2 separate regions of the Homo sapiens genome follow, and region 2 is linked to region 1. The links are contacts of gene promoters, found by promoter capture Hi-C in blood cells and fetal thymus (Javierre and others, 2016). All regions are on one chromosome and are shown on one strand. Each heading gives the region's core, a stretch centred on a gene start or on the middle of the fragment in contact. The rest is flanking DNA. Distances are from core to core; before and after follow the strand shown.

Region 1 (7,382 bases), core at 1,675-4,174:
ATAAGAGGAAACTGTCACTATCAATTGCAAACTCTAGACAAAGATAAATGCAAGCCACACAAAAATACGTGTCAAAGAGAAGACTTGTTTGGAACTCTAGGAACAAGGGGAAAGGAGAATTTCAGGAAGGTCCTTAGACTGCGTTATGTTTATACATTATCAACACTGGAAGGCAACAGAATTACAGAGATCACCTTCTTTACCGTGTTCAAATAAATTTGAGGAGGCTATTTCACTCGGGCAGGGAGCACATCTGCTTTTAAACTTGGAGTCAATACCTGGCACAAAATGGTGCTTACTAAAAATTTCAGACCAAGGAATTCCCCAGAACAATAAACGGAAGGAAATGTTAATCAGAAAAAAATTATTTTAGCTCATGGTAACGAGAGGAATAGACATCAATGACAGGTAAGACAACGTGAGTAGTGCTGTGCAGTCAGGATACAGAGCATGGACTGTGGAGTCACAGGCCTGAGTTCAGATCCGTGCTCCAGTGCTCTGGATCACTGCTAGACTATATTTTAGGAATGCACACTTTAATAGTGCATTTAATTACTAGGACCTCAGTTTATTAATTTGAAAAATGGACAATAACTCCTCTTGCAAGGTTATTACTGACACTAGACAGAAAGCTTGTAGAGATCTAGCATTGTGCCTGGCACAGAAAAGCTGGTCAAAAAAGTAGTAGCTGTATTTAATTTTAGAAAAGTCAGTGAAGCAGGGAGTGGTGGCTCACGCCTATAATCCTAGCGCTTTGTGGGGTTGAGGCGGACGGATCACCTGAGCTCAGCAGTTTGACGCCAGCCTGGGCAACAAGGTCAAATCCCGTCTCTACTAAAACACAAAAATTTAACCGGGTGTTGTGGCATGCACCTGTAGTCCCAGGTACTTGGGAGGCTGAAGCACCAGAATTGCTTGAACCCGGGAGTTGCAAGTTGCCGTGGGCTGAAATCGCACCGCTGCAATCCAGCCGGGGCAACAACGACTCTGCCTCCAAAAAAAAAAAAAAAAAAAAAAAGTCAGTAAAGAGGAATTAACCAGTTTTTTCCGTTTACCTAAAAACACACTCTGAACTGGAAACCGTGCTTTCACCTGTGATATACAGTCCTAAAGTTCAATTCAATGTAATTGATTATCATAGGTGGTTTGAAAGAATGAACTAAACTTTAGGATCGTATATCACAGATATACCACATTCAATTAAATTTGACTTAATAAAGTCAAGTCAATTTTCTCTAAGGTAGCAGTCCAAAGACCAGGTTCCAAACTTTTATGGAAGTCCATCGGATTGCTCTAATAAAGGACAATATATTAAGGTCCTACCCAACTATAAACTTCGACAATTTCTCTTATACTTTTTCTAAGATATTTGAAGCACAAAGCCAGGGACACAAAAGGAAACATCAGGCCAGGGGTGGTGGCTCAGGCTCACGCCTGTCATCCCAGCACTTTGGGAGGCCAAGGTGGGCGGATCACAAGGTAACGAGATTGAGACCATCCTGCCCAACATGGTGAAACCCTGTCTCTACTAAAAATACAAAAATTGGCCAGCCATGGTGGCACACGCCTGTAATCCCAGCTACTCGGGAGGCTGAGGCAGGAGAATCGCTTGAACCCTGGCAGCGAAGGTTGCAGTGAGCTGAGATCGCGCCACTGCACTCCAGCCTGGCGACAGAGCGAGACTCCATCTTAAAAAAAAAAAAAAAGAAACATCATTTCTCTTTTCTTTTTCATTCAGGGTCTGGCTCCGTCTCAGTAACTCCTTGGGGAAAGCGATGGAGAAGGGCTCGCTCACGCAGCACTTCTGGCAGTCCCTGAAGGACCACTACCTCAAGTCTCCCAGGCTGGAGTGCAGTGGCACGACTTCAGCACACTGCAACCTCCGCCTCCTGGGTTAAAGCGATTCTCCTGCCTCAGTCTCCCGAGTAGCTGGGATAACAAGTGCGCGCCACGGGGATTAAGCCCTCTCGTATGCCTCTGGAATGGTACTATGTACCATCTTCCTAGCAATGATAAAACACTCAATTACCTGTGTTCTGTGGTTCAAATGGGGAACGCTAATGAGAATATAAGACAGCCAGTTAAAGGGTGGCTAATCCTGACTTATCTATGTTAACCTACATACTCCAGGGATTTGGGAGTGGTTAACAAAGATATCAGGCTGAATTAAGATGGTCTCTACTGTTAGACGTTGATCACTTAATACTCACAGGTATCTACTGAATAACCCATACGGGTAGATGCATGACAGTTTTAGAACTGATCCCTTTTAATACATAACGTTCAGAATGACCTTAGTGAGGCCCAGAAAATTTTGAAGGTCTTTCTGAAAAGCTAGGGTATTTAACATTTCTCCAACTTCCACGTTTACTGAGTGGCTCAACAAAAGAATGCATTTCTCAGAAAGGAGGATGAAGCTAAGCAGGAAGTTTCGCTTTTCTTTTCTGATAACTCTTAGTTCTCGTCCTAGTTCCTCCTCCACAGTCTCTTAACTCTAGGAGTATGATAGGGAGCATCCCGCCGGTGCCAGCTGGGAACGGGGAGCCGGCGTGCCCGGGGTATCCCGGGGTACGTGGTCTGCAGGGCGCAGCCACCACGTCTCAGCATGTGCGTACCCACGAGAGCCGGCAAGAAGGCCCCGGCACAGCAGCCTTGGTGGGAACCTCGCGGCGCTTCCCAGCCCAGACTCTCCTACCGCAAAGGCTTTAAAGACTCGCAGCGACACTCACTTCTTGCTCAGTTTCGGCTCGCTGCCATCCACTTTCACCTCGGCCGCCTGCACGGCCGCCATCTTCCCGGAGGGCCCGACCCAAAAGTAAGGAGGATAGTACGTTAATTTCCAGGTCAAGGTGCGAAGCCCCACCTCTTCCGGGGGAGAGGGGGCGGGCACTCTCGATGCGCCGCGGCTGCTGCTGCGCAGGCCCAGTGCTGCGCTTCGCGGCAGAGGCGTCTGCGGTGACAGCTCAGTCAGTTGAGCTCTGTGTGCCAGGCGCTCGCGAGGGGGTAGCTCTTCTAGTAGTGCTCGGCGTCAGACATGGCGGAGGCGATGGATTTGGGCAAAGACCCCAACGGGCCCACCCATTCCTCGACTCTGTTCGTGAGGGACGACGGCAGCTCCATGTCCTTCTACGTGCGGCCCAGCCCGGCCAAGCGTCGGCTGTCGACGCTCATCCTGCACGGCGGCGGCACCGTGTGCCGAGTGCAGGAGCCCGGGGCCGTGCTGCTGGCCCAGCCCGGGGAGGCGCTGGCCGAGGCCTCGGGTGATTTCATCTCCACGCAGTACATCCTGGACTGCGTGGAGCGCAACGAGAGGCTGGAGCTGGAGGCCTATCGGCTGGGCCCCGCCTCGGCGGCGGACACCGGCTCGGAAGCAAAGCCCGGGGCCCTGGCCGAGGGCGCCGCGGAGCCGGAGCCGCAGCGGCACGCCGGGCGGATCGCCTTCACGGATGCGGACGACGTAGCCATCCTTACCTACGTGAAGGAAAATGCCCGCTCGCCCAGCTCCGTCACCGGTAACGCCTTGTGGAAAGCGATGGAGAAGAGCTCGCTCACGCAGCACTCGTGGCAGTCCCTGAAGGACCGCTACCTCAAGCACCTGCGGGGCCAGGAGCATAAGTACCTGCTGGGGGACGCGCCGGTGAGCCCCTCCTCCCAGAAGCTCAAGCGGAAGGCGGAGGAGGACCCGGAGGCCGCGGATAGCGGGGGTGAGGAGGCTGAGCGCGGGGCCTCGCGGATATCTGCGCGGGTGGGGTTGGGATCTTTCTCCTGGCTGCCTGGCGTCCATCTTGGCATCTTCGGTAGCAGCGCTTGGCCCCGCCCCCTGTTGACATCCGGGTAAATTTGCACCATTTTCTTGCCTTCTCGCTCCCTTGTTGTTTATTATTGTTCTTTTTTTGCGATGGGTCTCTGTTACCTAAGCTGGTCTGAACTCCTGAGCTCAAGCGATCCTCCTGCCTCGGCCACCCAAAGTGTTGGGATTACAGGAGTGAGCCACCACGTCTGGCCTCTCGTCGTTTTTATTTTTTAATTTTTGAGTGGGGGCTCGCTCCGTCGCCCAGGCTGTGATGCAGCCGCGCGATCACGACCTACTGCATCCTGGACCTCCTGGGCTCAAGCGAATCTCCGGCTTCAGCCTCCCAAGTAGCTGGAACTACACTCCCGCGCCACCACGTCCCGCTAAATTAAAAAAAAAATTGTTGTAGAGATGGGGGTCTCGTTGTGTTGCCCTGACAGGTCTCGAACTCTTGGGCTCAAGCGATCCTCCCGTCTCGGTGTCCCAAAGTGTTGGGATTACAGGCGTGAGCCATCACACCCAGCTTCTTGGTCTAGTTTTAATTTACTTTACCATTGACTAGAATATTGACATGGTTCTATATTCAAAAGTTACAAAAAGTATATAGAAAATTCTCTCTTGGCCGGGCGCGGCGGCTCAAGCTTGTAATCCCAGCACTTTGGGAGGCCGAGGCGGGCGGATCACCTGAGGTAAGGAGATCGAGACGAGCCTGACCAACATGGCGAAATGCCGCCCCTACTAAAAATACAAAAATTAGCCGGCCGTGGCGGAGAGTTCCTGTAGTCCCAGCTACTCAGGAGGCTGAGGCAGGAGAATTGCTTGAACCCGGGGGGCGGAGGTTGCAGTGAGCCGAGACTGCGCCACTGCTCTCCAGCGTGGGTGACAGAGCAAGACTCCATCTCAAAAAAAAAAAAAAATTATCTCGTCCTTCCTGTCCACCAGCTACCCACGGGCTAACTGGCTTCTTGTGTTTCTTTTAAGAGATATTCCACAGACTCCTTTTTAAAAAAGATTGCTGTTATGTTCAGGTAGATTCAGTATAAAGGCGTACCAGACTTACTTTAATGCTCTGGCGTAACTGAATGCCTATGGACTTAAGAAGGTTCTCGGCAGTTGGAAGGTCTCTTCCTGGTCTTGCTTAGGTGAAGTGAGTTTTTAATGCAGTTGAATTGAAAATTGGGGTTCAGTATGTCTAGGATACAGAACGAGTCTGTTAAGATGTACTTGGTGACGTACCTGGCATTGATAACTTAAACCGATAGACCCTTTTGTTTAAAGAGGCATGCTGCTTCTCCTCCCCCTCCGTAATCCTCCCACCTTTTCTTTGCCTGTATGACTACTCCATTTAACACTTGAAGTCTGGGGAGTAAAATCTTTTTCTCCTGTTCAGTATGCTTAGTAGGAATTTTGTTTTGGTAAAAGTGACATTTCAGCTTCATTCATTCAGCAGAAATTTGAGTGCCAGACATTGTGGTCCTGCTGGAATATAACAATAAATAAAAGTCCCTGTGGTCCTGGAGCTTATAACATGCTAGCTGGGGAGTGGTAAGGGCTATAGAGAAAAATAATTCAGAGTGTAAGGGTTGGGGAGGAGGTTTTTCCTATAGGATGATAAGAGAAGGTCATTCTCATAAGCTGATGTTTAAGCAGAGACCGAAGGAAGTGAAAGAGCAACCCAGGTGGATATCTGGGGAAGAGTGTTCAGGCAGAGGAAGAAGCCAGGGCAATCGCCCTTAGGTGGGAGTATGGCTGGTGTGTTTGGAGCCACAAAGAGAACAGAGTGGCTGTTAATGGAGTAGGAGGGAGAATTAATTATAGCAGATGAGGTTAGGGCTATGTGTATGGGTGAAGTATGTCATCATGTATGGCCTTGCTTTTATTTTTATTTTATTTTAATTTTATTATATATCTTGAGATGGGGTCTTGCTCTGTCACACAGGCTGGAGTGCGGTAGTGCGATCACGGCTCACTGCAGCCTTGACTTCCCAGGCTCAGTGGATCCTCCCACCTCAGCTTTCCAAGTAGCTGGGACTACAGGCACTCGTCACCATACCTAGCTAATTTTTGTATTTTTTTGTAGAGACAGGATTTGGCCGTGTTGCCCAGGCTGGTCTCGAACTCCTGGGCTCAAGGGATCTGCCCGACTTGGCCTCCCAAAAGTGCTAGGATTCCAGGTGTGAGCCACCATGCTGTGTCTGGGACTTGCTTTTAAATCCGTGATGTTGGGGCTATTGGCAAGCCATTTGGAACTTGGGACAAAATTAAGCTGTATTCATCCTACCCATCTAAGTAATCTTTTGATAATCAGATATTTAAATGTAAAAATTAAAAAATTCTAAAATGAGTAAGAGAAGATATGAATGAATATATCAGTATGGTGGGAGTTGCTCTGAACCATTTGTGGTTCAGGATGCTGCCTGATTTGCCAGAAGAAAAAAAGTAAAAATATTAGCATGGTGATAAGTTATGAAGCCAAAAAGACAAAGAAAAAGTTTTATATATTTGATTACCTGAAAATTAAGAACTTCTCATGATAAATAAAGTCAGAGGGCATGCTGGAAAAACATTCCCAATACACTGCAATAGACTTAGTTTCTTTAATGTCTAAAGAGCTCTTTGTCATTAAGTAAGAAGTCATTAAGTAAAAAGAAAACTAATAGAAAAATGAGAAAAGGAAATGGAACAGGAAGTTCCCAGAAAAGGAAATAAATAAGCGGCCGATAAACAAATGAAGAAATAGTCTGTTATTAAATGAAAGTAAATCAGACCGAGTGCGGTGGCTCATGCCTGTAATCCTAGCACTTTGGGAGGCCAAGGTGGCAGACCACTTGAGGTCAGGAGTTCGAGACCAGCCTGGCCAACATGATGAAACTCCGTCTCTACTAAAAACTACAAAAACTATCCAGGCATGGTGGCATGCGCCTGTAATCGCAGCTACTCAGGCAGCTGAGGCATGAAAATTGCTTGAACCAGGGAGGTGTAGGTTGCAATGAGCTGAGATCAAGCCCCTGCACTCCAGCCTGGGTGACAGAACCAGACTCCATCTCGGAAAGAAAAAAAGAAGAAGAAAGAAAGTAAATCAGACCCTGAGCCTAGGGTCAGTATAAGCTATACTTTGACCCATGAGACCTGTGAGATAATAAATATGTGTGTTGGAATTGTTTTGTATTTATTTGATGAATTGAGATAGCTTCCATTATACAAAATAGAACAAAAGCTCCCCAAGTTATTTATTTTTTTTAACTAAATCAGAGCAAGGAGATGTTATACTTTATCTATAAGATTGGCAAAAGTCAATACAATGGGTAATATCCAAAGTTAGTGTATGGGAAAACAAGTATACTCCTACGTTGTTAATAGAAATTGATACAATTTCTTTGGGGGGCATTTTGACAATATCTGATGACATTTATAACGTATATTCCCTTAAACATGGCAGTTTTGTTCTAGGAATTTATCCCGTAGATATACTCAGAGTACAAATGGGTACATACTGAAAAGGCAGTCTCCCTATTTACATACCCTTTTCCCTGGGTCCTTTCCTAGGGGCAGCCTCTATTACCGTCTCTTGTCTGTTGCATGTCCCCTT
Region 2 (6,544 bases), core at 1,249-3,748, 5.4 Mb after region 1:
AGGCTGCTCCTGGGAGCGACCCCAGGGACTGCCTGGGGAGGAAGGCTTAACTACTCTGACTTCCATCAGTTTGTCAGTCTCATCTTTACAATGGCATTTAAGAAAACATCAAAAAGGTAAACTTGTCACGATTCCACCACCTCCCTCCTCAATCCAGCCCCATCCACTGTGTATGCACACAATGATACCAAAACAGTCCACTGAAATTCCTTAAAATTTTCAGCTGTCAAATGTGTTTTGATAGCTAGCTAAGGGGCCCATAAGGGCAATTTTAACTTTTCCTGGGGAGTAAGCTGGGAGGGTAGAAGCGGTAGGGTACTCTTAGTGAAGATATAAAAATTATAGCTTTCTTTTACTCACTCCTTCAATCTTTGTCTACTGACTCTGAGGTACAATTTTCCTCAAGAGTAGTCTAAGACAGATTTCAACCACCAGGTGGCACAATTTTAGAAAATAAACCAAGAGCCAGCGCTGTATTAACTCTAGTATAAAGAAAACGGGTAAGCATTCTAATAACTCACTTCAGCAAATCTATAATCACAAGGAAGAACCCTGTATTTTAATGCCAGTTGGCTTTTCTTTAGAAAGATTTTCCTATTGTGCGGCTGCACAGGAAATTTACACTACAGTTGTAATTTCTAATGCTACTGCAAAATAAGCAAAAAACAAGGCCAGAAAAGTCTGTTGTGCAGAGTCTGAAGAAACTGTTCTCCAGAAAAAAAAACTGTAAACACTCCGCTTTCTAAAATATATCTTTTTAGGCTAGGCGCGGTGGCTCACGCCTGTAATCCCACCACTTCGGGAGGCCGAGGCAGGCAGATCACTTGAGGTCAGGACAAGCCTGGCCAACATGGTGAATCCCCGTCTCTACTAAAAATACAAAAATTAGCCAGGCGTGGCCTGTAACCCTAGCTACTCAGGAGGTTGAGGCACGAGAATCACTAGAACTCGGGAGGTGGAGGTTGCAGTGAGCCGAGATCGCGCCACTGCACTCCAGCCTGGGCGACAAAACAAGACGCCGTCTCAAAATAAAATTTAAATATATATATATATAAATAAATAACATAAAACATTTTTAAGGCCTACATTTCGGCCCTGGTATTAAAGAATTATTTTTCAACTTTTCAAGCTATGAGCCATACTGCAGCAGAGGTCGCAGACACGGTCGGGGACGGCCTCCCCTGCCCACTTCCACTTATCACAGGACCAGTTCTAAACCGATACCACTAAGAAAGCGACTGGCGCTGGCACTGTAGACCCCATGCCAGGCTGCTTCTGGGAGGGACCCGGGGGTGCTGCCTAGGGAGAAGGGCTTAACTACTCTGACTTCCACCGAAGAGTTTCTCAGAGAATGCGCCCTCGCAGCTTTCCCTGAATAAACATTACCAGGACTTACAAGGTGCCTAGCACTCTGCCAGAATCATGTGAATTTCAGAGGAAAATACTCGTTCACACATCTCAAGGAACGCACAGGCTCGTGAGGGAGCATTCTTGCCAATGCACATGGTAAATGCCCAATCGATGTTCGCGGAATGTCAGAAACTGACAACTAGTTCAGGCCTCAACGCAGTAGGAAAAGGATGAAAAAGAAACTCATTTTAAATCAACTAAACAAGTGCAAAAGCCATACATATAAAGGAGAGGAGATACGAATGGCATCACAACATAATTCCTTTGCCATCGAAAACTTCCATGCCTTTGAGGTTTTAAATGAAGACTTCCAAAACTGATTTACTTAAGACTCTACGTAAAACGCCTGATCTTTAAACGCAAGAAAAGCAAGATGAATGTATTACTTTCCTGGAAAAAAAAAGCATTAAAGGAGAAAAAAGAGTAAAGTGTACTGATGGGGCTCTTGGTGGGTTCTCACATCACAGGGCACTGCAGCTGAGACTTGCTTGAACGGCCCCCGTTTTCTACCCGCAAATTCTCAATTGCTAGATAAACAACAATAACAACACTTTATTGGGCGCTCATCGTGTCAAACCCTGTGTTGAGGGCTCCATTCCTCAAGGTCCATTTTACCGGCGAGGAAGCCCCGGCTCCGGGAGGGGAGGAGCGCGCCCAAGGTCACCAGCCAGTTGAGTGAGTGGCGGGCGGATCCCAACCCCGAGCGACGCCCACGGCCTGTCTCGGCCACCAGCGTGTTCCAGCGAGCGCCCAGCCACCTCGCTCGCAGCCTCCCCAGCGCAGCAGCCCGGCTGTGGGCCTGCGGCAGCCGGGTCTTCCTGGTCCCCACCTCCTGGGGCCGACGGGCGGCAGGAAGGGGCTCGGCGGGACGCGCCATCAGGGACCTGAGGAGGAACAACGGAACGCGTTCGGAACGGCCTGGACTCCCGAGACTCACCCGACTCGTGGCCACACCGGGAGAACTGAAGCGGCAGTAGCCGGCGGAGACGCCCGACCCGAAGGCCGGCTGCTAGGGAGCAGACAGCTGAACCGCTTGCCAGACGCCGAAACCCAGTGACGCCCTCCACCGCTCCACCGTGCTCCCGGCTCCTCGCCCCCGCCGCCCGCGGGCCCCAAGGCGCATGCGCCGCCTGTCCTGGAGGGGCCCATTTCCGTCCGTCGTGGGGGGAGGCACAGTGAGTCCACTGGGGCACGGCAGCGTCTAAGCCACAAGCCGAGCACATAAGCCAGGTCCTAACGGAGCCTATGTGTAAGTCCACTACTGGTGCAAGGTTGCACACTTCTAAGAAGAGCGGCGTGGGGGGCTCGGCGACCTTCGCTTCAGTCGCTCCCCCGTGCAGTCCCCTGTGCCCAAGACACAGCCTGATGCTTGTGCTCCGGTGGGCGGAGCTTGGAGGCGGCGGGAACTGCAATTGGTGGCTTTGAAGGCGCGGCGAGCGGGAACAGCTCTTGAGGAGTGAGACTGCAGGAGATGTGGGCCGGTAAGAGAGCCCCGGGCGGCACTGGATCGGGCCCCGGAGGGTGTGGGGCCTTGAGGAAGCCAGATCCCAGGCCTCGGGGGTGGCTTTTTCGCAATTGTCGCACGTTGTGAGGCGCAGGATTGGCGCTGGGTCTCGGGCTCGGGGCGAGGAACTACGGTTCGGGCCGAGGTGAGGGGGCGGTGGCGCTGTGCCGGCTGTGACGTCACCTCGCCCGCGGTGGGGCGGGTGGAGCCTTTCGTAGGCTCGCGACTGCGTCAGGGGAGGGCCGTGTGGTCATGTGACCAGGGGCTCCGCTCTACGATCCTGGGGTTGCTTCCTTTCCCAGAGTTGGGGTTTTGCTTTTCTGTCACCTCGGCTTCCGTCGTTTTTTGTCCCTGTACCCTCTTGCGTTGCTCCTCGCATTGCCTGTTGGAGCGCAGCAGAGGTGTGTGGCTACGGGAACGTTACTTAAAATGGATCTTTTTGATCATGCGTTCCACAGATCTTGAGCATCTACTGTATGTCAGACACTAAAACGCTAGGAAGTATAAAGAAAGTTTTAAAATGGGGCCAGGCGCGGTAGTTTACGCCTGTAATCCCAACACTTTGGGAGACCGACGTGGGCGGATCACCTTAGGTCAGGAGTTCGAGACCAGCCTGGCCAACATGGTGAAACCCCGTCTCTACTAAAAATACAAAAATTAACCGGACGTGGTATCGGGTGCCTGTAATCCCAGCTATTTGGGAGGCTGAGGCAGGAGAAGCGCATGAACCCGGGAGGCGGAGGTTGCAGTGACCCGAGATCGCGCCACTGCACTGCACCCTGGGCGACAAAGCGAGACTGTGTCTCCGAAACAACAAAAAAAGGAAAGTTTAAAAATGGTCACGGGGTAAACGTTTACTAAAGGGATTTCCGTCTTAATTGGTGAGACTGAGGGCGCTCTACCAAATTTCTTTAGACTGGCGTTCTGCAAACTTTACCCGGAATAAATCATCTGACGTACTTTTTAAAAGATGCTAAATCTCAAGCCCTCCGTGCGCCCTCCTCACAGTTTAATTTGATAGGGCCCAGGAATCTTCATTTTAACGGGTAGCCTCGTCTGTGGGTTTTTTTGTTTGTTTTTTGTTTTTTTGAGACGGAGTCTTGCTTTGTCGCCCATGTTGGAGGGCAGTGGCACGTTCTCGGCTCACTGCAACCTCCTCCTCCCGGATTCAGGCTGTTCTCTTGCCTCAGCCTCCCGAGTAGCTGGGACTAGAGGTGTGCGTCACGACACCCGGCTAATTTTTGTATTTCTAGTAGAGACGGAGTTTCACCATGTTGGCCTGGGTGGTCTTGAACGACTGACCTCAAGTGATACACCACGCCCGGCGCGCTCCCGGCCCCTCGCCCGTGTTCTTAATGGGAGAGGTGTTGATTTGATGTTTCACTGACTGTTGAACCCCAAACCACCCAGGTTGTCTCCTCAGGCATTCATTCCACAAGTATTTATCAAAGACACATTAGACTGTTCTTGGCCTGATTAGACTTACTGACTATAGTGAGGCAGTTCTGGTCTAGGAGTATAGCTGTGAATAAAAACATCGTCCTGCCCTGGAGCTCAATTTTAGAAACAAGAAAAGTTAAAAAGATAATTTCAGATAGTTCTGTAAAGACAATTAGCAGTGGATGGCCTGGTGCAGAGGCTCACGCCTGTAATCCCAGTACTTTGGGAGGCCGAGGCGGGAGGATCACTTGAGCTTGGGAGTTCAAGACCAGCCTGACCAACATGGTGAAACCCCATCTTTACTAAAAGTAGAAAAATTAGTTGGGTGTCATGGTGCACACCTGTAATCCCAGATACTCGGGAGGCTGAGGCAGGAGAATCATTTGAATCTGGGAGGCAGAGGCTGCAGGAGGCTGCAGTGAGCAGAAATCCCACTACTACACTCTAATGTGGGTGACCCAGCAAGATTCCGTCTAAAAAAAAGGAAAAAAACAATTAGCAGTGGAGAGTGGGGAAGTAACTTTTGGTTGGGTGGTCAGGATAAGTCTGAGGAGAAACCATCTAAGCTAACACCAGAATTGCAAGAAGTCACTGGAGAGAACATGTGCAGGAAGAACCTTCTAGGCAGTTGTAACTGCAGGCACAATGGTCCTTCTCTAGAGATTATTTAAGAGACTAGTGTAGTTGGAGCTCAGAAAACCAAGGAGAGGGAAGCAGGGGCCACGCAACACGGGGCCTTGTAGACCATGGTGAAGGCTTTAGATGGTCCAGTAACTACACAAAGAAACAAATCCGACTCCTGTTTCATGATCCTGATTCTGTTCCTACGACCTTAATTCAGTTATTTTTCTATTTCTAAATGACTCCTAATCCTTCCTCTTTATCTTTGTCTTACTATCATTTTCAGTATATTGTTAAAATACAGTCAACTATTTCTTTTCAGAAGTGGACAAGGATAATTTTTCAGTGTTCAACAAATAAGTCACAGCCAGGACTCTTGTAGGAAGATACTTCTTTGTCCCTGGAATTCCCACAGTTGTGAAGGAAACAGATGACTGACAGGCTTGTCTTAAACACAGATGCCAAGGTCTGTGTGTGCCTTCCTAGAAGACACACTGTTAAGGGACATTAAAGTATGCGGGTGGTACCCTGCATTGTATAAAAATCATGTTTGCAGACCACGCGCGGTGGCTCACACCTGTAATCCCAGCACTTCAGGAGGCCGAGGAGGGCAGATCACTTGAGGTCAGGAGTTCGAGACCAGCCTGGGCAACATGGTGAAACCATGTCTCTACTAAAGATACAAAAATTAGCCAGGCGTGGTGGTGCACGCCTGCAGTCCTAGCTACCTGGGAGGCTGAGGCAGGAGAATCACTTGAACCAGGCAGGGGAGGTTGCAGTGAGCCGAGGTTGCACCACTGCACTCCAGCCCGGGCGACAGAGTGAGACTCTATCTCAAATGAAAAAAATAAATAAATATCATGTTTGCTTGCTTTTTTGTTCTGTATTTGAAGAGAGAGAGAGAGATGCTCACTGGTGTCCCCAAATAAAGTAGCAGACGTGAGATCAGCTGTCACCATTGGCTCACAACTTCTGCCAAAGGAAAATGATAAAAGAGCTCAGAATCTTCCTTCCTTATTCCTGCAGCCGCTAGGTCATTCTTCTGGAGATTATATCCCTTGCCTATTGATAAGGGAGGCACACCAGATTTGGGGCTCAGGACCTTATAGACAATTAAGGAATCTCACCCTCAGGCATGGGCAGGAGAAGTGAGGGAGGAAAGAGCTCTTTGTTCACAGGCGGTGCATTAAAGGACTAAGAGACAGCAATCCACTGCACCACTAGCTCTTAGCATGTCCTGTGGAGTCACAGATCCAGCTGTTTATTCGGTATCTCCATTTGGACTCTCATCTTTATCTTAATATTAACAGATTCAGAACAGAATTACAGAATTCTTGAGCTTTCTCCTGCCTCTCTCGCAGTCTTGGCCGTCTCAGCTAATAGTAACTTTGTCTTTTAGTTCCCTGGTAAAAACCTTGGTTTCATCTTTGGTTCTTTTCTTGATCTAACACCCCACATGTAATCCATCTGGAAACCCCGTGAGTTCCCTCTTAAAAGTGTATCCAGAACCTGACCTCTTCCCCTGCCTCACTAACCTCCAACCTCTGCCCTCGCCTCCTTACACTGCGT

Evidence for each region. Contacts are between HindIII fragments. The CHiCAGO score rates a contact against its expected background, and 5 or more counts as called.
Region 2: the fragment with the promoter of CMC2 here is called in contact with the fragment with the promoter of TERF2IP in region 1 in 3 of 17 cell types (M0 macrophages, non-activated CD4 T cells and M1 macrophages); the score reaches 17.6 in M0 macrophages.

What each region holds. Positions count from the first base shown.
Region 1 is chr16:75,644,849-75,652,230 of GRCh38, forward strand. TERF2IP (TERF2 interacting protein) reads left to right here and starts at 2,925. Exons shown (of 3, transcript NM_018975.4): 1 at 2,925-3,704. The coding sequence starts at 3,035. It overlaps KARS1 (lysyl-tRNA synthetase 1), which reads right to left and starts at 2,817. Exons shown (of 14, transcript NM_005548.3): 1 at 2,730-2,817. The coding sequence starts at 2,791. RefSeq lists enhancers at 2,670-2,849, 2,889-3,846, 3,780-4,049, 3,847-4,802, 5,381-5,460 and a silencer at 3,350-3,469. The HindIII fragment of the contact is 3,802 bases long and covers 631-4,432 here.
Region 2 is chr16:81,004,387-81,010,930 of GRCh38, forward strand. It overlaps CMC2 (C-X9-C motif containing 2), which reads right to left and starts at 2,499. Exons shown (of 4, transcript NM_020188.5): 1 at 2,348-2,499. It overlaps CENPN (centromere protein N), which reads left to right and starts at 2,828. Exons shown (of 11, transcript NM_001100624.3): 1 at 2,828-2,891. RefSeq lists a silencer at 2,237-2,606 and enhancers at 2,777-2,886, 3,197-3,336. The HindIII fragment of the contact is 14,741 bases long and covers 1-6,544 here.